4 separate regions of the Homo sapiens genome follow, and all the other regions are linked to region 1. Evidence: promoter capture Hi-C in human tissues and cell types (Jung and others, 2019). All regions are on one chromosome and are shown on one strand. Each heading gives the region's core, a stretch centred on a gene start or on the middle of the fragment in contact. The rest is flanking DNA. Distances are from core to core; before and after follow the strand shown. Region 1 holds the start of SMARCD2 (SWI/SNF related BAF chromatin remodeling complex subunit D2). Region 2 overlaps TEX2 (testis expressed 2). Region 3 overlaps TANC2 (tetratricopeptide repeat, ankyrin repeat and coiled-coil containing 2). Region 4 overlaps TEX2 (testis expressed 2).

Region 1 (6,644 bases), core at 1,044-3,543:
GGTGTGCACCACCACGCCCAGCTAATTTTTATATTTTTAGTAGAGACATGGTTTCACCATCTTGGCCAGACTGGTCTCGAACTCCTGACTTCAAGTGATCCACTCACCTTGGCCTCCCAAAGTGCTGGGATTACAGGTGTGAGCCACTCCACCCAGCTGATCTGCTTTTAAATGCACTTATTAGCTTGCCCCTTTTCTAGGGTAGAAAAAATCTTGTGTTTTCTGATGCGACCCACTGGGTCGCATCAGAATTACCTAGGAAGCTTATTTTTCAAATACAATACTGAGAGCCATTGGATTGGAGGGGTGGCTGGCGGAGGTATTTTGGAGTAGCTTCCCAGAGGACTCTGATTCTCCACTGCCCCTATCACTTTGAGAATTACTGTTGTTCTAGAAGCTTAAAAGGATTGAAATGGATATTAGCTGCCTTATCATGAACTCTTAACCCACTTTACAGGGATGGGAGGGGCCATGATTCAGTGACTTTAACAATTCCAGTGGCCAGTCCCCAGACTGACAGGTTATCGACTCTTGGGGCAATAGAGTGGGATCTCTAAGTTCAGGAGGTAAGAAAACAGCAGCAGCGGTGTTTATCACTAGAGGCATGAGGAGAACTAATTTCTAAAAAGCACTGGAGAACTATACTGTAAAAAAGATCTGGGGTGCTATGATGCAAGGAAGGAAGTATTACTTGGTTGGGGCTGGAAAAATAAAGCAATTATAGTAAAAAAACTAAAAAAAAAAAAAAGTCTAGATCCCGGCTTCTTGACAGTGTGGTCTGAGAAGCAACAGCATCGCTGGCAGCTTGTTACAAATGCAGAGTCCTGGGCCCTGCCACAATCTGCATTTTTAATAAGAGCCTCGAGTGTTTTTTATGTGCTCATTAAAGTTTAAGCAGCACTGGTCCATATCACGGCGAGGAGATCCAGACCATCAGAGGGTAGGCTCCCTGGCACAGCTGACGCATTTTTGAATACTTTGATACAGCACAGTGTACCTGAAAAGATACTGCATTTTTGAAAATTAAGTGCTATAAATACTGGAGAAAGACCTCTTTTTTTAAACTGCGGGGAGGTTTCTCATAAGCCAAATTTCTTTTGACTAGAAGCATTTTCTGGGGAGTAAAGTACCAGGCTTCCTTAAAGTGAGGCGGAGCCACGTTAAAAATGTGCGGTAGAACTCAGCCTTGGCCAAGTCGACCGTTCACCAGCTGGGTCAAGTCTGGAGCCTCCTAGGTCCCTTGGCAGTTCCGAGCTACCAGCATGAGCTTTTACAGGAAGTTGAGTTGGCTGCTGTTCTGCCCCACAGAGCAGCTGAGTCTTTTTTTTTTTTTTTTTTTTTTTTGATGAGTTTCACTCTTGCCGCCCAGGCTGGAGTGCAGTGGGGCGATCTCGGCTCATTGCAACCTCTGCCTCCAAGGTTCAAGCGATTCTCCTGCCTCAGCCTGCCGAGTAGCTTGGATTACAGGCGCCCGTCACCACACTCGGCTAATTTTTGTATTTTTAGTAGAGACGGGGTTTTCACCATGTTGGCCAGGCTGGTCTCGAACTTCTGACCTCAGGGGATCCGCCCGCCTCAGCCTCCCAAAGCGCTGGGATTACAGGCGTGAGCCACAGCTACCGACTCTGAGTTGAGTCTTTAACGCCGAAGATGCAGAAAGGAGACTTGACAAAACTATTTTCGGGGAGTGTGGCCGCGGAATTCGGTGAGGGTGCTATACCGGGAGAGAGTAGTAGCAACGGCTCATTCACTGTGAAGCCCCTAAGTGACCTTAGACCTCTGACCCCGCGCCTCACTCGGCGCTTCCGCGCGCAGCTTCCGCTCCCGCCCCTCCGACGAAAGGCTGGGCCAAAGGTGGGGGGGTGGGGCTCTGAGGTCGGCAGTTAGGGGCGGTGCCCGCTGGGGGCGGGTCTCGCGAGGGGCAGGATTCGAGGAGGCACTCGAGCATTGGGCACCAGGTAGAGGCGGGGCCTAGTGCTGGGCTGGGTTGGGCGGGGCAGGGAGTTCGTAGCCGCCTCTGGGTAACTCGACTCGGGCGGCCAAACCTCCGGAGGCCGGGGACGGAAGGCGGGCCCGCAGCAGATCCTGGATCCGGAATCTCCCGGGCAGGAGCGGAATCTGTCCCGAACCGGGTCTGTGAGGAACTCGCGAACTTGGATTAGGAAATCCCGGAGCCCGGATCGACAAATCCCGGAACCCGGAATTAAGATCGCCAAGTCCCGGATCGCGGAGCACAGAGCACGGAGTGGACTCGACGCGGAGCCCGGAGTCCGGATCGCGGCACCGCGGGACGGGACGGAGCGATGTCGGGCCGAGGCGCGGGCGGGTTCCCGCTGCCCCCGCTAAGCCCTGGCGGCGGCGCCGTGGCTGCGGCCCTGGGAGCGCCGCCTCCCCCCGCGGGACCCGGCATGCTGCCCGGACCGGCGCTCCGGGGACCGGGTCCGGCAGGAGGCGTGGGGGGCCCCGGGGCCGCCGCCTTCCGCCCCATGGGCCCCGCGGGCCCCGCGGCGCAGTACCAGGTGAGCAAGGAGGACGCGAGCGGACGGGGGCGAGAGGCGCTGCGAGGGCGCCCGGGCCGGCGGCTGAAGGGGCCTCGAGTGAGGGCCCTGGGGAATGCATGAGGAACTCCGGGAGACGGTGGAGGGCGGGCCGGGACCCTCGGGCTGCGGCGGGTCGCGGTGGAGAAGTGGGAAGGGGAAGCAGGTTCTGCAGCGGAGGGCTGGAAGCAGCTGGGAGGCCTGGGGGCTTCCGCGGCACAGGGATTCCGAGTGACTGGGAGATGGAGGAGTTTGGGGAGCCAGTGAATTGTGGCGGGTGGGTTGAGAAGTCTAGGGTAGGAGGGCTGGAAAGTGATGAGAAAGTTTGGGAAAGGGCCCTCGCTGAGAAACCGGGGTTACCCTGCATCGGCCTTGGTCCCAGTCCAAGTCTGCCCTGTTTTTTCTGATTGGGAACTGGCGGAGCTCTAGCGTGTCTGAGATGGCTCCCGGCTGCTAATAAGGAGGAAGGAGCCTGGCTTCCCACGGGCACGGGACGCTGAGGCTAGGGCCAGGGGATTCCAGCTTGTGCACGGGCGGACTTTACTCCTGAGGCAGGGCCAGGCGCCTTCGCTGGGAGGACTCCAGCTTAGACCAGAGACGGTGGTGGCCTGGCCTGAGGGGAGGCCCAGCCCAGTCACAGGCCGGCTCTCTTCTGGGCTTTCTGCCTCCTGTCATCGTGTCCGGGAGTTGATTAGTCTGGACGTGCAGAGTGGAGCCCTGCTGGTCTGGGGCCGGAGGAGTCTGCGAGAGTTGCTTCAAAGAGTGCTGTCCTGACCCCTTTGGGGTTTTGAGAGCTGCTCAGATTGCAGCTTCAAAAGCCCTTGCAAAGCAGCGACTTCTGCTCAGTGTGTGAGGACCTCAGCCTGACCCTGCCAGTGCTCTAGTCTGCTGTTCAGGTTGCCCCAGAGGGCTTGGAAACTGTGCCCATCTGCCTTGTCACCCTCTCTGCATTTTTATTTGGCCTTCAGGTTCTAACTCCACCACGTCCGAAGCCATGTGCCCAAGCATTTGACACTGGCTTCTTGCTCATCTACGGGTTTGCTGTGGGCTTCCTCTGTTTTCGACTCATGTCTCCAGGCAGAGGTCCTTAGGGATCCTCGTGGAGTATACACAGCCTACCTGCCCCACTGGGCCCTCACTTCTAAGGAGATGGCTTAACTAGGGACAGTGACTGGATTTTTTTTTCCTTCTTACTCCTCATTCTTCCTCCTTTCTCAAGAGAAAAGAGAGTCTGGGTATGGGCAGAGACAGACCTGGTCCCAGGGATTCCAGCTGGGGCTCATCTCTCCCACCTTGCTGTCCCCGTTGGGGATTCATGGGCCCAGGGTGTTGCTGAGGGCTCCCTGCATCATTCATTGTAGCCCTTGGGCCTGCCCACTGAGACCTGGCCTGGGCACCATCTGTGGGCCTTTGGCCTTGGAAGGACCTGGAACAGACAAGCCGCTCCAGTTTCCTTGGCATGCAAGCCATAGGAAATGTGCCCTTGGGACAGCCCCTGAGAGGATGGATTCCACATGTTTTGGTGGGGGGTGGCCTTGGGCCTGTGGCAAGGCCAAGCTGGCTGGCTGGTTAGGCCTGGGCTGCTAGCTGTGCGGAAGTAGGAGATGGCCCTGAGTCTGGGTTTCCCATCCCACTAGCTTTCCTCCTCCTGGCAGGAGAGGTAGATGGGAAGGAGAACCCAGCCAGCTAACTTTGGCTGAGTTTGAAGAGGATCCTATTTGCCTTCTTTCCAAGTCCAGTTGTATGACTGCCAGGAGAAGGGACTTGAGATCTGGGAAACAAAGGGGTTCCTGTCTGTTAGGGCTCATGAGATGCACTTGAAAAGTGAGAATTTGAGGCCCAAGCTGAGCAAATAGTTGAAAGAAGGGAAGTGATGACCTCCCTTCCTCCAGAGGGTGGTTCTAGCTGTGGATCACAGTTAACAGAGGAACCTAAAAAAAGAAAAAGAAAAGAAAAAAACCTCCAGGGCAGGATATGGTGGGCTCACACCTGTAATCCTAGCACTTTGGGAGGCCCAGACAGAAGGATTACTTGAGACCAGGAGTTCAAGACCAGCCTAAGCAACATAGTGAGACCATCATCTCTTAAAAAAAAAAAAAAAAATTTAGCCAAGCATGGTGGTGTGCGCTTATGGTCCCAGCTACTCAGGATGCTGTGGCAGGAGGATTGCTTGAGTCCAGGAGTTCAAGGCTGCATTGAGCTATGATCCTGCCACTGCACTCCAGCCTGGGCAACAAAATAACAAAAACCTCAGATTGCTGGGTTCACTCCAGAGAGTTCAAAAAGTTCAAAAAAAAAATTTTTTTTTTTCTGATACGGAGTCTCACTCTGTCGCCCAGGCTGGAGTGCAGTGACATGATCTCAGCTCACTGCAACCTCCGCCTCCCAGGTTCAAACAATCCTCTGCCTCAAGCCTCCTGAGTAGCTGGGATTACAGGCGCCCACCACCACGCCCGGCTAATTTTTTTGTATTTTTAGTAGAGACGAGGTTTCACCATCTTGGCCAGGATGGTCTCGAACTCCTGACCTTGTGATCCACCCGCCTCGGCCTCCCAAAGTGCTGGGATTATAGGCGTGAGCCACTGCACCCGGCCTCAAAATCCTTTTTACTCATGGGAGAGTGGGTGGTATGTTCCCCAACTGAGGCCCTCAGGCCCAGGTTCCAGGAGCATCAGGGCCACATTTGGGGCAGGGCAAAGCACGCTCACCGGAGCCCTGGATTCCTCATCTGGGGTTCAGGGGATTGATCCAGGCCTACCTGGTCCTGCTGCAGGCAGGGAGTTAGGGAGGCTCAGAGTGCTGGACTGCTTTTTTTTTTTTCTTTAACTCCTGAGTTGTTTTTTTTTGTTTGTTTTGTTTTGTTTTGTTTTTTGAAGTGGGAGGAGTTGCTAGCGCCTATAAGCCCTATGGAGCTTGGCAAGGCTCAGCTGGGACTTGAACTATAAGCAGCCTTCCCCTGGGGCCCTGAGTGAGCCAGGGGCTCTGGGCCCAGGAAACCTGGAGCAGATGTCTGGGTGGAGCCTATTCCAGACCCTGCCTATGAGGCCTTGTCTTGGGACTTCCTGTTACCGGAGCACCTGCCCAGGAGGGATGGGTGGTGCTGCAGGTTTTGTGAACACTGCAGCAGGGAGCTTCCTGGGGACCACAGGGCCCTCGCTCACCTCTGCAGGACCCACTGCTTCAGTTCTTCCCTGTCTTTGTCTCAGGCACTAGGAAAAACTAGTCTGGGATGTCTGGGCCTGGGCTTACAGCTGTAGCCACACTTAGTTTTTTTCTATAATCTCAGGCCAGAGAAAGAACAATCTTTAAGGCAGAGAAAGAGGCTGTCTTTTGCCTTTCAACAGCTCTGATTAATCTCTTCCTGATGCAGAGAGACTTTGGCAGGACTCCCAAAGCCCCAGAGCCCCCCACTTTGAACTTTTTATTCTCCCAAACACTTCCGTCCCACCCTGCTCCTCCTCTCCCCATCCTCACGTCTGTGGGTCATGTTTCTTTCCATCTCCGCATCTGGTCAAGAATCTGACCCTCTGTGTTGGGAACATGGGTTTAGTGCGGGATGAAGAGGTTGGGGAAGAATCTCATCTCCATGATGCTGGGGTGGGGGAGGGTCCTTTGATTTGGTACAAGTCTCCACCCTGCCGGGCTTGGTTGGCTGGTTGTGCTCGTTGCATAATCTGGGCCCTGGGGCCAGCCCTGTGAAGCTGCCAGGGACAGTGTGTGCAAGGCAGAGCTGCCAAACAGGCCTTGCAGGCAGCAGCCATGGGGAGGCGGGTGGGGGTGGAGGTGACTCCCAGATGGGCTCCACAGAAATGTCAGGGAGCAAGGCCTCAGGTGGGAAATCCTTCTGCAGGCATCTAAAGAAGCTATTTCTGTCTCCCACTTTCCTGCTGCTCAGCCTGGGCCTCTATCCTTGCCTCCCAGGATAATCTTAGCCCCCTTCTCCAGCTTGGGATTGCCAGGGCTACACGGAGCCAGAGCCAGTCCTGGCTGCCAGGTGGTGCCTGGACCACTGGCAGAGTCCAGGTGCTAGCTGCTCTCTTTCCCACAGGCCACCCAGGAGCCATAGCTTCCCTTCTGGGGTCTTCTGTCATAGGGGTAGTAGTTGGG
Region 2 (6,305 bases), core at 3,803-6,302, 390 kb before region 1:
TAAAGTCCTAGGCTAATGTAACCAACTTCCCTAAAGATGGAAATATATTCCCATAGCACTCAAAAAGGGATGTGCAGAATTTGGGAGTTTTTATGATTTTAGTACTTGTAGTAGAACATTTACTTATGTATAGCAATGAATTAGAGGAGCAGAATAGGATGGGTCATACTCAGGGATGACCTAGGCCTGCTGGTTTCTTTTTGCTGTAAACTGTGGTTTACTTTTTGTAAGAAAGTCTTCACAGTATGGAACATATATCCCTAATAGGCAGCTTTTTACCCCAAACAAGTTTTGAGGGGCCTATCACAATAGACAAAAGCGCTTTATAGCCTGGTCTGTGAATTACTGTGACTTTTTAAAAGCACCTTTCAGTGCTTGCCTGAGTTGTCATTACACTCAAGGTCCCCCAGAATTGATGTTCCCCCTGGGTAGATAGGGTGAAAGTCTTTGTCTTTCCAGTGATGTGCTCAGTAAGTACTGAGTGGATGGAACACTTTCTTGGAGCACAGAGCACCTGCAGAAAGCTTCTGTTGGCTCCAGATTGGTTTGTCAACGGAAGCATCCGCATGAGGCAGTGCCACACAGTGGTTAAGAGGATGGCCTTGGAACCTGAGTCCTAGCTCTGCTAGTTAGTAGCTTTGTTACCTTGGTGAGTTGCCTAAACCACTTTCTTTTTCCTCGTGTATTAAATGTGGAAATGATGATAGTACCTACCTGGCAGAATTGTGAGGCTTAGATGAGATAGTGTTATAATGTTGGTAAAGTGATTAGCTAGAGGGCTGGCAGTCATAAACGTTGATTGTTGTTCTTGTTGGTTCAGGGTCCCTCTGATACATCTTCACAGATCAGGACTGCGTTTGACTTGGATCTCTATGGCCCTTTTTTCCAAGAATTCCTGCCACTTTACTGGACTGGGTCATGCGCTGCCCAGTACCTAAAGGTGTTCTTTAACCACAGAAATTAAAATGGCAATCATAATGTTTTTGGAGGAAAAAAAAAATACCTGTATTTTCTGAAGAAATAAATAACCATTGTATCTTTGTATTTAAATAGAGTAACTGCCAAATCAATAGGATATTTTGAGAACAAGTGGTAATATTTCTTGGTGTCATTTACTCCATCATAAAGATCCATGGGGAGAGAGCAGTGTGGTTAATTATGATGTTCCTGTGCTGTCACTGCCTAAATTGACAGTGTATGAAGTGCCGTCCCATTTATTCTTTCTCCCAACAAGCTGAGGGGTGGGGTTTTACCATCATGGTCCTCATTCGACAGATCCAGACCCAGTGAGGCTGCTCCTGAGCTGGTGTTTTTTCCAGTTAGCCTCAGCTGTCAGCTGCGCCATGGAGGATGATTTTGGGTGTTGAGTTATCTGGGTGGTATTTAATGGGCTCCTAATTGCACATGGATGGCCAGAAAGTTCTGCTCCTGTTTTGGCGTTTTGCTTTGGCAGACAGTGCTCTCTGAGGACTCACATAAGCTGGAAGAAAAAAACCCAACAACAAACTCAACGCTAATCATCTGGAAAGACAGGATACTGCTGTTAGGCAGATATTGGACCTGTGAACAGAAAAACATCAAGATCACAATTTTACAGCGTTTGTTTCTTTGAAATGTCAAATGGAGCCCCAATACAGCCATCAGGTTTATAGCACCTCCAGAATTAGATTAGACGGTGTGGTTCCATGCTGTGTACTTGTATTTCTGGTTATGAAATGCTCCTTGTGCTTATTTTCCCCAATCTGCTGAGAAACACTTTTTTCTTGTTCCTTTATGCATTCACGTTTCTTTTTTATTCCACTTGCCTTTTTTCCTTACCCCTTATTTCTGCCTTCTGCTCTGCTTTTGGCCTTTAGACAGCAATGGAACAGACCTTCAGGAATGGGCGTCCATGGAGGCCCTGGCGGGGGCCAGCTCTGTACCTAGGATCTGAGTTGGGGGGTTAGGACCACGTCCCAGGAGGTAAGGCCACAACTCAAGGGCAAACAGTACAGGCATGTGTAGTGAAGATCAGGAGCAGGACATGGTCTCACTGTGCCCTGTGTCTATGGAAGCAGCTGCCCATTTCTGATTCTTCAGATATTTTAAATGAGTTCATTGACCTTGATAGAGACTTGCCCTTCTTTGATGTAGTTACACAGCAATAGCCTGTTAGAAAGCACTTGCCTCTAACATGGTGCCTTGCAAGGTAGGTGTAGACTATATTAACTAGTTATTGGTGCCAGGGAATAACTGGTACTATATCTCCACCTGAATTCCTCGTGATTCCATTGTCTCTTTCTGGGTATGCATGTGTTTTTGTTTGTTTGTTTGTTTTTTGAGATGGAGTCTCACTCTGTCACCCAGGCTGGAGTGCAGTGGTGCGATCTTGGCTCACTGCAACCTCCACCCTCCAAGTTCAAGCGATTCTCCTGCCTCAGCCTCCCAAGTAGCTGGGATTACAGGCGCCTGCCACCGCGCCTGGCTAATTTTTTGTATTTTTAGTAGAGATGGGGTTTTACCATCTTGGCCAGGCTGGTCTTGAACTCCTGACCTCGTGATCCACCCACCTTGGCCTCCCAAAGTGCTGGGATTACAGGCGCGAGCCACCACACCAGGCCGCATGTGTGTTTTTAAAGTGTAATGCATTCCTAATGGTCCAAGTTGTTTTACACCAGTGAATCTCAGTTCCAGGGTGGGCCCCGGGGCAGGGTATGTGTGTGTGTTTGGGGGTGGGGTAGTTGTGTGTGTGGTTGTGCACATATAGGCTTATGATGACTGGGGAATTAAAAAAATGTCTTCCAATCCATCAGTTGTGAAACTCCACAATCATGATAAGCCTCAAGATGGATAGGGGTGAGCTGGGTCATTTGTGTGTTGAAGATGTTGCCTAGGATTTTCTGGTACACTAACCCTTCCCTCAATCCCAAATGCCTCTGCCTTTTTAGAACTGTGATTAAGAAGGTAATGATTAGGGATGATCAGTTGTCTCACCAGCAGTCTGTTAGGTGGAGCTGACCTGGGCTCATGCCATCTGCAAAGGAACCCATGGGAACCAGGGACCATTTTCAGCATTTGAAAAGGCTTAACAGAAACTATGCTTTTACCCAGGATGAACATACAAAAGCTACCCAAACCATCAAGTTTCCTTGCTTTTGTTTGGAATTGCAACCCTGTATGGAAGGTTTCATGCTGACTCCACGTTCTGATTGGCTGTGGATGACATAATAGGAGTTTCTGACACAGGATTGGTCTAACTGTAGATATTGTTACTGGAGCTGGTACCAGGTCTCACTTCCCACTACCTTTAGAATGAGGTTGACCTTGAATGTGAGTGCCCTTGACTATGGAAATGAAGCCACTGATTGTTTCTTGCTTGCTCAGCTATGCTTATTATCACACCTGTGGCAGTGACTTGATTTTTATAATGTCATTATGAACCCCTTATAAATATGGATTGTTGATTAAAATTTGGATCAGTATTGAAATGGAAGAATAATACACAGAATTAATCAGTTTACTGGTAAACAATGTAAGAATATTGAAAAACATGTGGCCAACATGGGGAGGGGACAGAAAAAAAAGAGGTTGATGAAACTACAGATCTTATCCACAGCTCTCATTTAAAAAAGATCCTTTTTCATCAGCTTTTCACTGAAATCAAACACCAATAACTCTTTCACCACGAAACACCAACTATTAATACTTAGTCTCTATAAGCCTCCTAGGATCCTGTTGTGTTCATTTACCTAGGTGATGTACATCATCCTAAATTCTGCCTTTTCATTTTGTATTACGATGTATATGTACAGTACATATTTTTACATTGTCATTGTGTCATTCTTAATGGTCACAGCTGCCTGAACTAAACCTAAAGTCAGACAGTCAGGACAGTCCAGTGCTGGTGATTAGAGAAGGCTGGAAACAAGCTGTCTGATCCCGGATAACATGCCGGTGAGTCCACAGGCTGAGTCGGCACGGATAAAAAGATGTGCTCACACCTGCTGTGGATGCTGATTATAGTAGCTTACATATGTTAAGTGTTATTTCTTAATTCTCCCAGCAGCCCCTATGAGATAGGCACTATTATCTGCATTATATGTAAGGAAAAAGAGGCCTTTTGCCGTAACTTGTCCAGGGTGACACACTGATAAGAGGTGGAACTGGAATCCAAAGCTGGGTCTGTTTAATTTCAGAGTTTGAGTTCTTAACCAGGTTTTCTGTGCAATTGTGTTGCACCCCAGGACCTATTCAGTTCTCACCTCCCTTCAGAATCTAACCACCTTCCACCTTAATAATGACAAACACATCTATTAATATGCATTAAAGTGACAGAAGCTTAATACTGAAACAAGATAGAGTGGATGTTGCTGGCGAACAGGAACCCCAGAGACGGTCCTGTCCACATGAGGCTGTGTTAGTTTTCCTAGAGCAGAGTGGTGTGAAGGGCCAGCCTGCATTCAGTCTCTCCTTTGGTTCCGTCCTTTAGTCAGCCTCAGAGTTTTTCAGACTTGAATGGGCACAACAGTGACCACACAGGGTTGCCTGAAGCACATATATGGTACTTGGTGGGAGACTCAAGATTCTTAGTGAGGCTGAGAAGTGGTGCTTGGGTGATGTTTGTACAGAGTAAGAACTAATGAAGCACTGGGATAGAGAGCCCCATGAAGTTCAACCCCATCACAGCCTGAGCAGGAGCAGCCTCACAGTCACCTTCTGTACTGTTTGGCAGTAGGTGGGGGAAAGATAGGGGCTGCTGAGGAGGCCAAGTTGATGCCTGTCCTCTGGTGCCTGAGCACATGCAGGTGCGGCTGATCTGCAGCTCATTCTCATAGGTTGGAAACTCTCCACCTAATGGCCAGCACACATAAGGGATGTTTCTACAGCTGGGCTGAGCAAGACAAGTCTGGAAAGTCTAGAAGTATTTGTTAATGGGAGATGAGCTGTTTCAGTACTATTTGAAAAATATTTTGACTTAATTGCCTTAGGCACATTAGTCAGCTGATGTGCACTCTGGTTTGCTTTCCTTGACTTTAACAGTTGCCAAGAATTTCTCTTGTTACAAAAGAGAAAAGTAGGACTCTAAGTATGTTCTGTTCCATGGAAATTGAGTCATAGACTCTTAGAATTTAGAGCCTTCTGGAAAATTCCTTGAAGACAATGGAGGAAGCTTCCCTCAGTTTACAGCAGAACCCCAGGCTCAGGGAGGTGAAGTGGGGAGCTCCGTCACTGTCATTTGAGGGCCATTTGAGGGCTGTGGTCCTCCGTGGAGCTCCTCCCTCTGCTGCCTCATGGCCTCACTCGGTCTGTGTTTTCAATGACTGATTTACTACTAACTGAACAATTGTCTGAATCCCAATCATCTCATCAGTGGGCAATCCTTTCTTGGCATGATCCACAACAGAGGTAGAGTTGGGTGGGGAATGTTCCCCCTCAGGGCCTATAGGCAAGTGGTTCTCCTCAGGGAACCATGAGGTGGCCAGCCGGCCAGGTCAGGACCATGCCTGTGCCAGGAACCAGTATCTCCTAACCTTGCCAGTTGTGAACATGGCTCTGGGTTTCTTGCCTCTATTCCTTTTCTTCTGCTTTGTCCTCCACTTAAAATGTACTCTCCATTTTGTCTTGGCGGGGCACCTTGTCAGGTCCCCATGGGCCAGCTCACACGGGGCCCCTGGGAAACCTTCCACCATGCCTTCTCATATTCCTCCCATCAATTCCTATTTCCCTCAGTCCCACTCTTTCCCCTACACACACATGTGTGCACACATACATGCACATACACATGTGCACACATGCATGCACACATCTTAAACCTGGTTTAAAAAAATTTATCTTCTTTGGCCCTCAGATGCCTTACCTATAAATAACATTCTGATGTAAGATTACACTTAGCAAATTTACTGCCCTATATCAAGGTTAAGTCTGCTGATGCCTGTGTGAAAAGGAGGGTTTCTGACTGGGGGAAACGGCTAATTTTTTTGAGTTCTTAAAGAGTTTTTTCAGTTTTTGAAGAATTAATCTGAAATACGTTCCTCACATTGAGAAGCTGAATGGCCAGTGATCAACCTAGATGTAAGCTAGGTTGTCTAATTTCCTAATATGATTTGAAGGGAATAAATTCAATGCTTTACAGTTTATTATAGCTAGAAAATAGAGAAATGATTGTCCATATCAGTCAGTTTTTCCAAAGTTAAAATTTAGATCCTTGTATAGGAAACAGAGCAATATGTGTGTTATGTGTGTTATATACACTATTGTCAGCGTTTTCTAAAAAGATTTCAAAGACGAATGTTTTTATGCTGATGGAATGGGAAGGCTTCATCAGG
Region 3 (6,489 bases), core at 1,432-3,931, 450 kb after region 1:
TGTAATCCCAGCACTTTGGGAGGCCGAGGCGGGTGGATCACCTGAGGTCACGAGTTCGAGACCAGCCTGGCCAACATGGTGAAACCCCATCTCTATTAAAAAATACAAAAATTAGCTGGGTGTGGTGGTGGGTGCCTGTAATCCCAGCTACTCCGGAGGGTGAGGCAGGAGAATCACTTGAACCTGGGAGGCGGAGATTGCAGTGAGCTGAGATCATGCCATTGCACTCCAGCCTGGGCGACAAGAGTGAAACTCCTCTCAAAAAAAAAAAATAATAATAATAATAATAATACTTACTGCAGCAAGAATCACTGATGGATCCTAATATTAGTGGACAAAAGTATGACAAGAACCAGGATGTCTGTCTTTCTAGTCTCAAAAGCATAACCCTAAAAGATATTTCTTAATTACAAAAGGAAAAACAGTAACTTCAGAGCTGAGAAACCTGGAAGACATTACCTTAGATGCCTGTTGGGGGTCAATGTCCTCCTAATTCTGGAGTAGGGATTAAGCTAGAGTGATCAAATGCTCAGAAGAATCCAGCGAAGAAAAAGACTTCTGAAATAATGAAGAACATTATTCCGTATTGGAGGCCTTTTTGGACAGGTATTGTGCGGTGGCCTTGGTATGTACTTTCTTGGACAATGTCGCATCATCACTGATATATGGTCAGTGTGTTGGTGAGCAGGTCTAGGGTAGCCAAGTGACTGAGGTTAACACCACCTGTAATAAGACCTATCAACAGCAGGGACTTCTAGTGCTGCATTTTTATAAGGGTACAGCATTGCTTACGTGGTATTCTTGCCAAAAATATATACACTCAATCTCACAGTGAGAAAACATTAGATAAACTAAAATTGAAAAACATTCTACAGAACAACTGGCTGGTATTCTTCAAAACTGTCAAGCTCATAAAAGATCAACAAAGACTGAGAAACTCTCACAGGTTGGAGGAGACTAAGGAGGCACAACACTAAATGTAATGTGAGATCCTGACCTGGATTCTCTAATGCAAAAATGATCAGTGGGACAGTTGGACAAATTTCAGTAAGGTCTGTAGATTAGTTAATAGTATTATCACCAAATTACTTTCCTGGTTTTGATAATGAGACTACAATTACTTAGGCTGTTAACATTAGGAGAAGCTGAATGGAGGATATATAGAAACTCTATGCATTTTTTTTTGCCTACAAGAGAATTATTTTATTTACTTTTATTATTTTAAATTGACACAATAATTGTACATATTTATGGGGTACAGTGTGATATTTTGATACATGTATGCAATGTGTAATGATCAAATTAGGGTAATTAGCATACCCATCACCTCAAACGTGTATCATTTCTTTGTGTTGGGTCTCTGCACTATTTTTGCAGTATCTTTGAAAGTCTAAAATTACTTCAAAATAAAAGCTCTACAAAAGCTAAGGGGATGGTGTGTAATAGATGAGATGAGAATCTGAAAAACGGGTTTGTTACACAAGAAGACTCCAAGAATAATTCAGGGGGATAGTGGCAGTTGGGGTAGAGACCAAGGAGTAGCTTCTCAAGCTCTTTTGAGGATAACATTGAAAAGTGCTGGCCACTAAATGAATTAGGAAGGGCAAAGGAGGGAAAGATGTCAATGACTCCCTAGTTCTGAGAAAAACGGAGGCTACATTAGCAGACTTTGAAAATCCAGAAAGAGGAGGGTAAAGATGCTGAGTGATTTTAGAAAGCTGGATCTGAGGAACTAACTAGTCAGGGATATGAACATGCCTGCCAAGGAAGCAGTTACAAATGTGAAACTACAGCTCAAAAACACTTTCAGAAATTAGCAATTTGGGGTTAAGAGTCACCAAAATGTAGGTAGGAGAACTAGAACCCAGTCGGGTTTGACGCCAAAGCCTATGACTTTAATGCTGAAGCCATGGCGAGTATGAGGACGGAAGGAAGACCAGAGGATCTCAGTGAACAGTTCTATCAGAAGAAGAAGAGAGGGGCAGCCAGAGAAGTGGGAAATGACATTAAAAGTTTACTACTGGCCGAGCACGGTGGCTCACGCCTGTAATCCCAGCACTTTGGGAGGCCAAGGTGGGTGGATCACCTGAGGTCAGGAGTTCAAGACCAGCCTGGCCAACATGGTGAAACCCCATCTCTACTAAAAATACAAAAATTAGCCAGGCGTGGTGGTGTGCGCCTGTAGTCCCAGCTACTTGGGAGGCTGAGGCAGGGGAATTGCTTGAACCCAGGAGGCAGAGGCTGCAGTGAGCCAAGAATGGTGCCACTGCACTCCAGCCTAGGCAACAGAGCCAGGCTCTGTTTAAAAAAAAAAAAAAAAAAAGGTTTATTATTGCTAATACTATGGAGGGGCTCAGAGATGTGAGGAATAAGACAAAGCTGCTTTATTTGGTGAATGGCAGTCATTAGTGACTTTTAAAAGAGCAGCTTGGTAGAATGTAGGGAGGTTGGGTTATTTTCTTTTTTACAGATACTATTTATTAGGCACTATATAAGATTAAAAGAGACTTTAACACCTCTTTTAAAAAAAGGCTTTATCTCTTTCAATGCTTACACTGACTCTTTTAACACCCTTTTTATAGATGAAAAGTGCGATTGAGAGAGGTTAAGTGACTTGTTCAAGCCCTTGTATAAATTAAGTATGGACACAGGATTTAACCCAGTTGTGTCTGATCCTAAAGCTTATCATTTTAATGAGTTGCCTCCTCTCTCATTCATGGAAGCCAGAATGCAAGTGGTTAAGGAGTAATAAAGAGGTGAATGTAGCCAGTATAGAGGACTCTTAGGACAGGTTTGGCAGAGGTGAAAGGGAAGAGATGGGATGTTGCTTCTGGTTAGCAAGGGAGAGGAACATTTCTTTTTTAGGTTAGGTAGGTTTCTACATTCATAGGTTTGTAGAAACTGAGAAAAAAGGTAGTGTGAATTTAGAAAAAGAATGAAATAACGTGAGAGAATGAGCAACACCGTGGGTTAAGAGTGTAGAGGAGGAGACAATTGCTCTGGAAAGGAAGGTAAGTACTTCCTTCTCTAAGGCAAAGTAGAGGTGAGCGTACGTAAGAACTGATAAGAGTTTTGAGATACAGGCACCTTGAGATGAGCTCGATCACAGTGATGAAGGGCAGAAGAGGCGTGATAGGATCTTGAAAGAAGTACATATGAGTTACATTTCTGCTCTGGGGAAAACAATGAAAGATGAAGAAAAGGATGGCTTGGCAGTGTAAGGGCTGAACAGCAGGAAAGACCCAGCTAAGATCAGAATATGAAGTGACAGCAATAGTAAGAAGGGCTGGCTGCCGTGGCTCATGCTTGTAATCCTAGCGCTTTGGGAGGCCACAGTGGGAGGATCTCTTGATCCAACGAGTTTTAGCAAACCTCCGAGCAATATAGCAAGACCCTGCCTCTACAAAATAGGAAAAAAATAAAGCTGAGTGTGGTGGCACATACCTATACTCCTGGCTACTGGGGAGGCTGAAGACTGCAGTGAGCTACAATCATGCCACTGCACTCTGGCCTAGGCAACAGAACAAGACTTTGTCTCTAAAAAGAAAACGAAAATAGTAACGAGGCCCAGTTATCATTGTTCCTAGAGGTGTCCATTCAAATGAATGGGATGTCACAGGTGCACAATCACTGTGCTACAGTAAACTTCTAAGGCTCTGAGATGTCATTGAGAGGCCTACGTCTCAGTTCCCAAAGGAGTGGAGGAGTCCCACTTTCTCCCCTCGTAACAGCACTGAATACCGCAGAATGAAGTCATACTATGACTTGTATTTCACTATGAAACCACTAAAGTCCTCAGTTTGTTTTCAGGACTGAAACAAAATACTATGAGGCCAGACTTTTTTTTCCCAGAGGCCCACATTTGTGAGACCAGCATTTTTCTTTTCACCAATATTGTGAAATCGAGTTTTTATACATAAAGCAAACATATTTTGGAAATATTTTCAGAGAACTGATCAGTACTAACAGAAGCACTTCGAGGTGCCCTTGGTCAGTCTGAGTATAAATAGGGAGAATCATCTTCTCCCCTTATCTCTAGAGTGGTGGTCTTCAAGGACAGGATGAAGGTGTCTGGTCCTGTTCTCATCTCCATGGCTAAGTTTTCTTCTCTACACATGAAAGGCTTAGAGCCTGCAGGTGTCATTTGGTCCAGACCTGCCACTGCAGTCTCCTGGCTTCCTCACTTCTCCTTCCTCTCTTTGTTAAAAAGAGGCTTCTTCTGAGCTCAATAGATCATTTCTGGGTTGTTATGTAGAAACTTTTTGTGGTTACGGATAAATGCAGTTTCCCAAGCACCTCTCAAAGGGTTTAGAACTGTGTGCTCCTGCAGGATGGATGGCAGTGGCCCTGCACATATGCAGAACCAGCACTCTCTCTGATCTCCTCTCCATCATGGTTTGATATACTCTACCCAGACTCATGAAGTAACACTGGAGATAAGAAAGAGTATGCATCGAAAATAAAGAAAAAGGGAAGAAAAGCAGCAGAGCTGGGCAGCCAGTACCTTGGCCCGTTTCTTGCACAGCAGCACCACAATGCTCAGGTACCCTGCTGCTGCAGCATATCCCAGGGGAGTCAGGCCACTTTCAGAAGAGGCATCCACGTTGGCCCCGAACTCCAGCAGCAGGGCTACCATTTCTGTGTAACCAAGATGGGACTGAACACATAGAATTGGAGCATTATTTAAAACCTCTGTCCGGTAATTAATATTGGCACCTCCCAAAATCAGCAGTCGGCTGACCTAGAAATAAACAAACAGAACTAATAATTAGACAAACAGGAGTCACATCCTTTTAGTCATCTTTTATTAAACCATCTAACATTCTACAACAGTGTCTAGTAGCATTTAGTAATTGCTTTATTTTATAATCTCATTTGCTCCTTTTTCTTTTCCTTTGGTAGATAATGTAAAATATCTCCTTTACATAAATGGCATAGTAACTAGAGCAATTGCCTCCTATACTGTAGTGCTGAACATAGTCTCTACGAAGTGAGCTCTTGGTCAGAAAAGCTCCTACCAAGACAAAGGCTACCTGAGATCAATTTACTCTTTGGAACCAGCAGGACCTGATCCCATATGTCAGAGTCAGCTTATAGAAGTTAAGAGGACAATGGAGCTAGTCTCTAATTTATAGAATAAAATTTAACAATTTAAAATATATTAAATTATCAATAAAAGGCTAATAAGAAAGACAAGTCAAAGATCAACTAAATAGCTACTTAATGTCCTTCTAGTTTTATTTTTTCATAGTTAATTCCTTATCATATTTATAATTTCTTTATAAATTTACCTTTATATTTGGAGTGTAGAGATTTCGTAAAGACGCCAGTGCCATGGAAAGACCTTCTGTGCTATAAGAGATCCAGAGACCTTGGAGGATGGAGGATGATACACCAACTTTTTTACTCAAACCCTGAATAAGAAATACAGACAATTAAATTAGTAGCCCAGCAAAAAAAAGTAGCATCAGTGGTGAATTAGTGGCCTCTTTGTTTTTGGTACTAATGAATGAGAGCGGAGTCTCACCCTAACAATGTTCATGCCAAGCAAAGCCTAGGTGGGGGGACAAAGACCAGTCCTGCAGGAACAAGCTAACTGAAACAGTCTCCATCTCTGCAGCCCTTAGCAACACGTCTACTCAACACCTCTCTTTTCTATCTGGATATAATTTATTTTTCCATATCTTTTTTATTAGCCTTCTTCAATAAATCTCTTAAATTCAAGTTACTAAATTACACACTGTGGCAGAAATAATGCAATGTGATCACGGATTTCCATTTCATTTTCTTCCTGAACATTTGGAAAAACTCTATTTCCCAGGCTCCTTTACAGTTAGGTAGGCCATGTGACTGAATTCTGGTGAATAAAATTAGGGCATAAATAATATGTCATGTCCAGGCTTGGCTCCAAAACTTCCTGCATATTTCTCTACACTTTCTATTGTTCCTTTTGATTACAGGCCAGATGTAGAAGATCCAATGGAGAATTCTGAGGCCCAAGGTGATTTTAGAACTACTACACGGAAGGAGCCTGCCCAGACATCTGCACTGTACTGTGATGTAAGGAGAAATAAATCTTTGTTAAGTCATTGAGATTTTGCAGGTTTGTCAATAGCAGCTAGTGTTCTTCACCTTAACTAATATATCCCAAAATGATTACATATGCTTATCCTCAGGAAAAAAACAGCAATACAGGCTTGATTTCCATCCGCAACAAATTTTCTCCTAGTATCACTGGCACAGGTCCCACGACATGTACTAATATTTGTCCTTTTCACATGGGCTTCCCCAGAAGGAAGTTAGAATAATTTGTTCTTCAGATCTCCTGATTGTTAGACACTCTCTGACAATCATCTTACTCTTCTGTCAATATCTGGATCAAATCAGTTAAAGAAGGAAATCCTGAGGGCAGGAAGATATTAACAATGAAATTTGGGTTGTAATAAGAGATATAGGGAGGTACTTCTTTTAAAAACTTAAGCTACTTCT
Region 4 (5,788 bases), core at 481-2,980, 360 kb before region 1:
GGTGGCTCACGCCTGTAATCCCAGCACTTTGGGAGGCTGAGGCGGGTGGATCACGAGGTCAGGAGATCGAGACCATCCTGGCTAACAGTGAAATCCTGTCTCTACTAAAAATACAAAAAAATTAGCTGGGCGTGGTGGCGGGTGCCTGTAGTCCCAGCTAGTCATGAGGCTGAGGCAGGAGAATGGCGTGAACCCGGGAGGCAGAGCTTGCAGTGAGCTGCGATCGCACCACTGCCCTCCAGCCTGAGTGACAGAGCGAGACTCCGTCTCAAAAAAAAAAAAGAAAAAAAAAAGGCAAATACTAAGTGGAGGATTGGAGAAGTGGGCAGTGATGAGTTCCAGATTTCCACTCTGCCTCCAGGTTGATGGCTTTAAAGTGATGTAGGAGATAGACCTTGGTTTCTTTATAAAACAGGCCTGTGAACTTGTTTCTAGGGCAAGCCAAAAGAGCCACTTATTGAAAATGTTTGATTTCAGGGGATAAGTGAGCTGGTTTGAATTATTTTGTGTACATCTGATCCAATTTAGTTGGTATTTACAGAAGATGGTGCAATTCTTGAGGGAAGGTACGGAAGCCTTTTTAAAAAGCTCACCAATATGGAAGACTATAATACCTGCCTGCGACCGAGATCTCCAAGACAGGCCCAGCCCAGGACCGAGATCCCGCATACTTTATGCCCTAAGAGGACTCCATATATGAGCTGTGAACCAGTCAGGCAGTGAGCTGGGTGCTCAGGGACTGTTTTAGGAGACCATGTGGTTTTGAACCTCTGAGCCGTATAAGTTCTCACTGATGGGTCCAGGAACTGCTTGCAGCCAGACTGGACTAAGAGTCTTGCCCCTTTACTGGTTCCATGAACAGTTCAAGGAGCATTGCAGTTTTTCTTCTGTGTAACTTCACATGCTGAGGAAAGAATGGAGAAAAGGAAAGTTTTTGTGTACTTTATCAGGGTCCTCACTGCAGACATATGTATTTATATATGATGCTGCAGCAGTGATACATTTATGGGATGACAAACCAAAAAGACCAATTTGCAGCCAAGTAGTAGCTAATCTCAAAGACTGTTGTGTGGTTGTCTAGGCCCTATGGTACTCCGCCGTCTCCCGCTCTGAACCCATTTGATCAGCAGCTGTACTGTCTAGAATATAAGTAAAAAAGAGGCCGGGTGTGATGGCTCACGCCTGTAATCCCAGCACTTTAGGAGGCTGAGGTGGGTGGATCATGTGAGGTCAGGAGTTCAAGACCAGCCTGGCCAACATGGTGGAACCCCCTTCTCTGCTAAAAATACAAAATTAGCCGGGTGTGGTGGGGCATGCCTGTAATCCTAGCTACTTGGGAGGCTGAGGCAGGCGAATTGCTTGAACCTGGGAGGTGGAGGTTGCAGTGAGCTGAGATCGCACCACTGTACTCTTATTGCCTGGGCAACAAGAACGAAACTCCGTCTCAAAAAAAAAAAAAAAAAAAAAAAAAAAGTAAGACCTCTATGTGGCCAAAGAGCTGTCACAAAGTCCACAGAAGAATTCTTAGGACCTCCTCCAAAGCTTGCTTGTTCTTAGTATGTTGGAGTTCATAGCTGATGAGAAGCAGCAAATAGGAGAAAGGTTGCTACAGGCATTCAACAGGAAGTGGCATGTGAATGCACATGGTATTGGCACAAAGGCCAATACCAAAATGTGAGAAGAAGCTCATAGGACTTAGAGCATGGTGGGCTGGGCAGGTTAGCTCAAGGCAAAGAGCCTCGTGTGTGCCACAGACCAATGGCATCCCTGTAGTGACACCCCCTGTGTGGTAGCCTTCAGGAGTTCTTATGTTGGGTGACTGTCTAGATGCCCTAAGCTGGGGACCTTGGGAAAGGGTGGGTTTGGGCACGGGGAAAATGGGGCATTTAGAGTCAGCAAACTGCACTTGGCATGTTTGCTTAGCCAAATCAGATGGTCCCTTGCCCAGGATTATTTTTAATTCAGAGCCATTCCTGTTGCACACTAACTTTCTACATGTTTATAATGAAAAGCTTCCTGAAGATTTCATAAGGGTCTTGGATTTATGTTTGAGTATATGACTCAGATGCAATTTTGAATTATATTCACGAGCAAATTCTTTATCTCAGATTTATAAACCACCAGCAGAACACAGCAGTAGCATATTGGTTTCCAGAGTGATAATCCATCTCTTTTTTAAAGATATGGCCTGCAAGTTTGACTAAAATTATATTTAGGCCATTGCAGAAACTAATAGAAATGGATTTTGGAGAACTTTTTTTTCTTTAGATTGTGTCACATGTAGATATTTAATAAGAGGGATAGGTTTTAAAAATAGGTTCCCTGAATATAGGCTTTGGTTTTGATATATAAAAGAATAATTTTGGGGGGAGGACATGATCAATTTTGAGGAGAAATTCCAATTTGTAAATTTAATCTCAATTTGTTGAAATTCTTTCAAGAAATTAGAGTAAGCAAGTCTTTAGGAGAAAATGGCCATTACATGCAGCCCAAAGAGACTTGGATTGCTTTTTGTTGGTCTCTTATAACTTAGAGTAAGGACAAGAAATGTGAGTGCATTTCTTTCTACATTATACTTTACTGAAAATATCCTGCCCCTATAATGGGTTACCTGAGTTTTTATGTATGGTTTTTATAAACATGGCTATTTCCCAGTGCCCCTTGTAGAATAGTTTTCAGGTGAGATGTTTGTTTGTTTGTATGTTTGTTTGTTTTGCCTCGCTCTGTCGCTCAGGCTAGAGTGCAGTGGCACAATCTTGGCTCACTGCAACCTCTGCCTCCCGGGTTCAGGCAATTCTCCTGCCTCAGCCTCCAGAGTTGCTGGGATTACATGTGCGCATCACCATGCACGGCTAATCAGTGAGATGTTTTGATGCAGGCAGCCCTCACTTACCAGAAGGTACCCCTTGTGTTGAAGTTGGAGAGGCAGCTGTGTGGAACGTGCTTCCTGAATTCCATAGGAACAATATGGTTAAGGATGTCAGGTAGTCCCAAAATGACTTTTTTGAACTTTCATTTTTAAACTATTTATTGATGAAAATATTAAATACAGACAAAAGTAGAGGCAATAGTAAAATGAACCCCCCATGTGCCTGACACCCAGTTTCAACAATTGTCAACATTTTGCCAGTTTTTCACTCAATTCATTAACTTATGGCATGGCTGAATTGTAATTCTGGTTACCTATATATAAGTACAGTTTTTAGCATCCTGAAAATACCTTCTGAACTCTGTAAGAAAAGTAGCAAAAACATCGAAGATTCTTATTGTAATTATTGTTCAATAATTAGCCGTTAAGAAGAGGTTTGCTGTACTCCAAAGATGAGTTTGCCAGCAAGATGGTTCTAGGGCATGAGCGTGTTTTTTTGTGGGTGCCCAGGCCATAGTTGTTGACTCACTGTTTTCATTCCATTGCTTCTTTCAGTGGTGTTCAAATGGGTTGCAGAAGACACTAATCAAGAAGAAAACAGTAAAGTTTCCGTCTGTATCAGTCTTTGCTCTTTCTAGTTGAGAAAGTAAATAAGCCTTGCTGATATTTAACATACAGATGACCATATATCGACTTTTGGCCAAAAACCTTGGAAATTATCAGTAAGACTCTGAAATACAGATTTACACTCAGGATCATCAACAGTGATCCTCACCTTGAGTGTATGTATTGTGCCTTAAGGTGTCAGCTGAAGATAGTACAAAGCTGTCATACTGGAAAAACTAAAAATTATCAAAAGGATAATTATTTCATCTTTTGCTCTTTATTTCTATTCTGTACTTTATATAAAAGCTGTATATATTGGGACATGTGTATAAATTATAAGTAAAGTATATATTTGTACATACCCAAAAAGTTGTTTGATAGAATGCGTGATCTGAAAAGTGACAGAGGCTGCTAATTTATTTGCTTGCTGATCTATTTATCTTACAATTTTAACCCTTGTTAATATGATTTAATGTTTATCATGTATTAATGTAACTCAGACCTTGGTCATTTCAGTGGTTCATCTGAGATCATTTTACCTTTCTAATTTGAATCCACGTTATCTCCTATTCTATTACTGTCTGTCAGTGCATTATAATTTCAAAAATGTTCTATGGCCACCTGAGTTTGGGAGATTCTGCACTGGAGGATAGGAGAGCAGGATAAAGCTGTGGCTTTAGCCCTGACTCCAGTGCTTCTAGTGTCACTGCTGGGAAGGTGACCTTGAAGCAGGCAGTTGGAGGATGTGGACGGTATTAACGGCGCTTCCCTCCCCTAATGGGCTTTCTTTCTTTTCTTTTTTTAATGTTCTTTATAGTGTCTTTGAGCAGCATTTATTTTGAATGTTGACTCCCTGCTTAAGGCTATCATTTATAGTATGAATTCTGGATGTCTGTGGGTCTGCTTGCCTTTCATGGGTAAAATCAAATTTGTATCTCAGGACCTATAAAGTTTATTAGACGGTCCCACCCCTGCCATATTCTCAAACTCCATGATCTATGGTGCTGTGTTTCTGATACTGATGATGCTGGTCCTAAACCATTAATACATCAAAAAAGGTTTAGGCTTGGTAAAGACAAAATCCTGCTTATGTTTTAGTTTTGGAGACAGAGAGTAATTACCTTTTTATGTGCTTCAGAGATGATTTTCAACAGGAGGGGCCTCAGGCCCTGGCTCTATTCTTGTGTAGGATTTGCTCCTTCCCTGATACACTTGATGAAGCAATGATACAGGGATCTGAATGACAGGTGGACTGAAATGCCAGCACAGCCACATGTCAGCAGGGTGAAAACATGCTGCATTGTTACTGCTGTCAGCCAGGCACACAGTGCCTGAATTCTCATCACTTCCTCGGGCTATAGGGCTGGCACTTTTCTCTGGTCAGCTCAGTATCAAGCTGAGCAATAGAGCATTGGCCTTGAACTTCTGATTGGCACTGTAACTGAAAGCACGGTAGTAGTTCTTCCAGACTTTATTATTTTGCAAAAGGTTAATTGTAGCTTTTAATCTTTTAAAATATTAAATGGCCCCTTTATAGATTGTGGTTTTGTACTTTCAGCCATACGTGGCTTCTAAATCCAGCAGAGAATTGAGAGAAACCCCTGACCTTTTACAAATGCCATCACAGGACCAGTCTGTGGGCCAGACAGCTGCAGCCTGGCTGACTGGGTCATTGTCCCCAGCGGGGTGCACTGTGTCCATTTTAACAGCTCTAGCTTCAGAAAGAAACAAAGCTTGTCTGAGTCACTTTAGTGTGGGTTGAGAGCATCTCAGAGTTTTCGGTTGAGCTGTTGAAATGGAATGTTGCTATCTATATGCCATATCTCTCTATACCCATTCCCATGTCTCATAACAAGGTTGGATGAATACTTTACCTGGTAAGAAATTCAGGCTTAAGAATTTTAGAACAGCTGAGCAGTGGATAGTTGGGCACTATATGGAGAACAGGATGAAGACCTTGGAGTTGCTGCTTCTCTCAAGATTCGACAATTGCTGAAATCTGGAAATTTCATTTGCAGCTTAATCCAGGGACTTGGTCAGATCCTGGGTGGGGGGAAATGGCTGATTAATGGTATCAAAAGGTGATTAGGTTTGCACCGGGAAATTGCTTTCTGCAAGAGCAACCTGGTTTCAGGTCAGTAGGAGTGTGAAGGGGCAGAATTAGGGAGGCTTGGAGGAAAGTTGTGCCTCAGCCTCTTGTCCTGAGCCTCCCTAAGGCCAGTCTGCAACCTGGTTCCTGACAGTGGGGTCAAGTAGCAACTCCTGTGATCCTCTCAAGATTTCCTGTCAAAGCCTGTAGTGTTCTGGAAAGAG

What was found. The method cuts DNA at HindIII sites, captures the fragments that hold promoters and counts their contacts. A contact is called where the count stands out against the background at its distance.
Region 2: a contact is called between a fragment that was not itself captured here and the fragment with the promoter of SMARCD2 in region 1, in 1 of the 25 tissues and cell types used here (aorta).
Region 3: a fragment that was not itself captured here is called in contact with the fragment with the promoter of SMARCD2 in region 1 in 1 of the 25 tissues and cell types used here (pancreas).
Region 4: a fragment that was not itself captured here is called in contact with the fragment with the promoter of SMARCD2 in region 1 in 1 of the 25 tissues and cell types used here (dorsolateral prefrontal cortex).

What each region holds. Positions count from the first base shown.
Region 1 is chr17:63,838,334-63,844,977 of GRCh38, reverse strand. SMARCD2 (SWI/SNF related BAF chromatin remodeling complex subunit D2) reads left to right here and starts at 2,293. Exons shown (of 13, transcript NM_001098426.2): 1 at 2,293-2,519. The coding sequence starts at 2,304. RefSeq lists a cis regulatory region at 302-691, silencers at 1,801-1,970, 2,341-2,570, 5,395-5,689 and enhancers at 3,291-3,370, 5,395-5,689. The HindIII fragment of the contact is 13,907 bases long and covers 1-6,644 here.
Region 2 is chr17:64,229,587-64,235,891 of GRCh38, reverse strand. The region is part of intron 1 of TEX2 (testis expressed 2); the gene reads left to right. Among named protein-coding and RNA genes, the nearest start is that of TEX2, 31 kb to the left of the region's middle. The HindIII fragment of the contact is 5,262 bases long and covers 2,422-6,305 here.
Region 3 is chr17:63,387,560-63,394,048 of GRCh38, reverse strand. TANC2 (tetratricopeptide repeat, ankyrin repeat and coiled-coil containing 2) reads right to left here. Exons shown (of 28, transcript NM_001394998.1): 16 at 5,292-5,414; 17 at 4,505-4,741. It overlaps LOC105371856 (a long non-coding RNA gene), which reads left to right. Exons shown (of 4, transcript NR_188626.1): 3 at 5,961-6,060. Among named protein-coding and RNA genes, the nearest start is that of CYB561, 56 kb to the left of the region's middle. The HindIII fragment of the contact is 5,988 bases long and covers 1-5,675 here.
Region 4 is chr17:64,202,236-64,208,023 of GRCh38, reverse strand. All of the region lies in intron 2 of TEX2 (testis expressed 2), which reads left to right. Among named protein-coding and RNA genes, the nearest start is that of TEX2, 58 kb to the left of the region's middle. The HindIII fragment of the contact is 3,761 bases long and covers 1-3,610 here.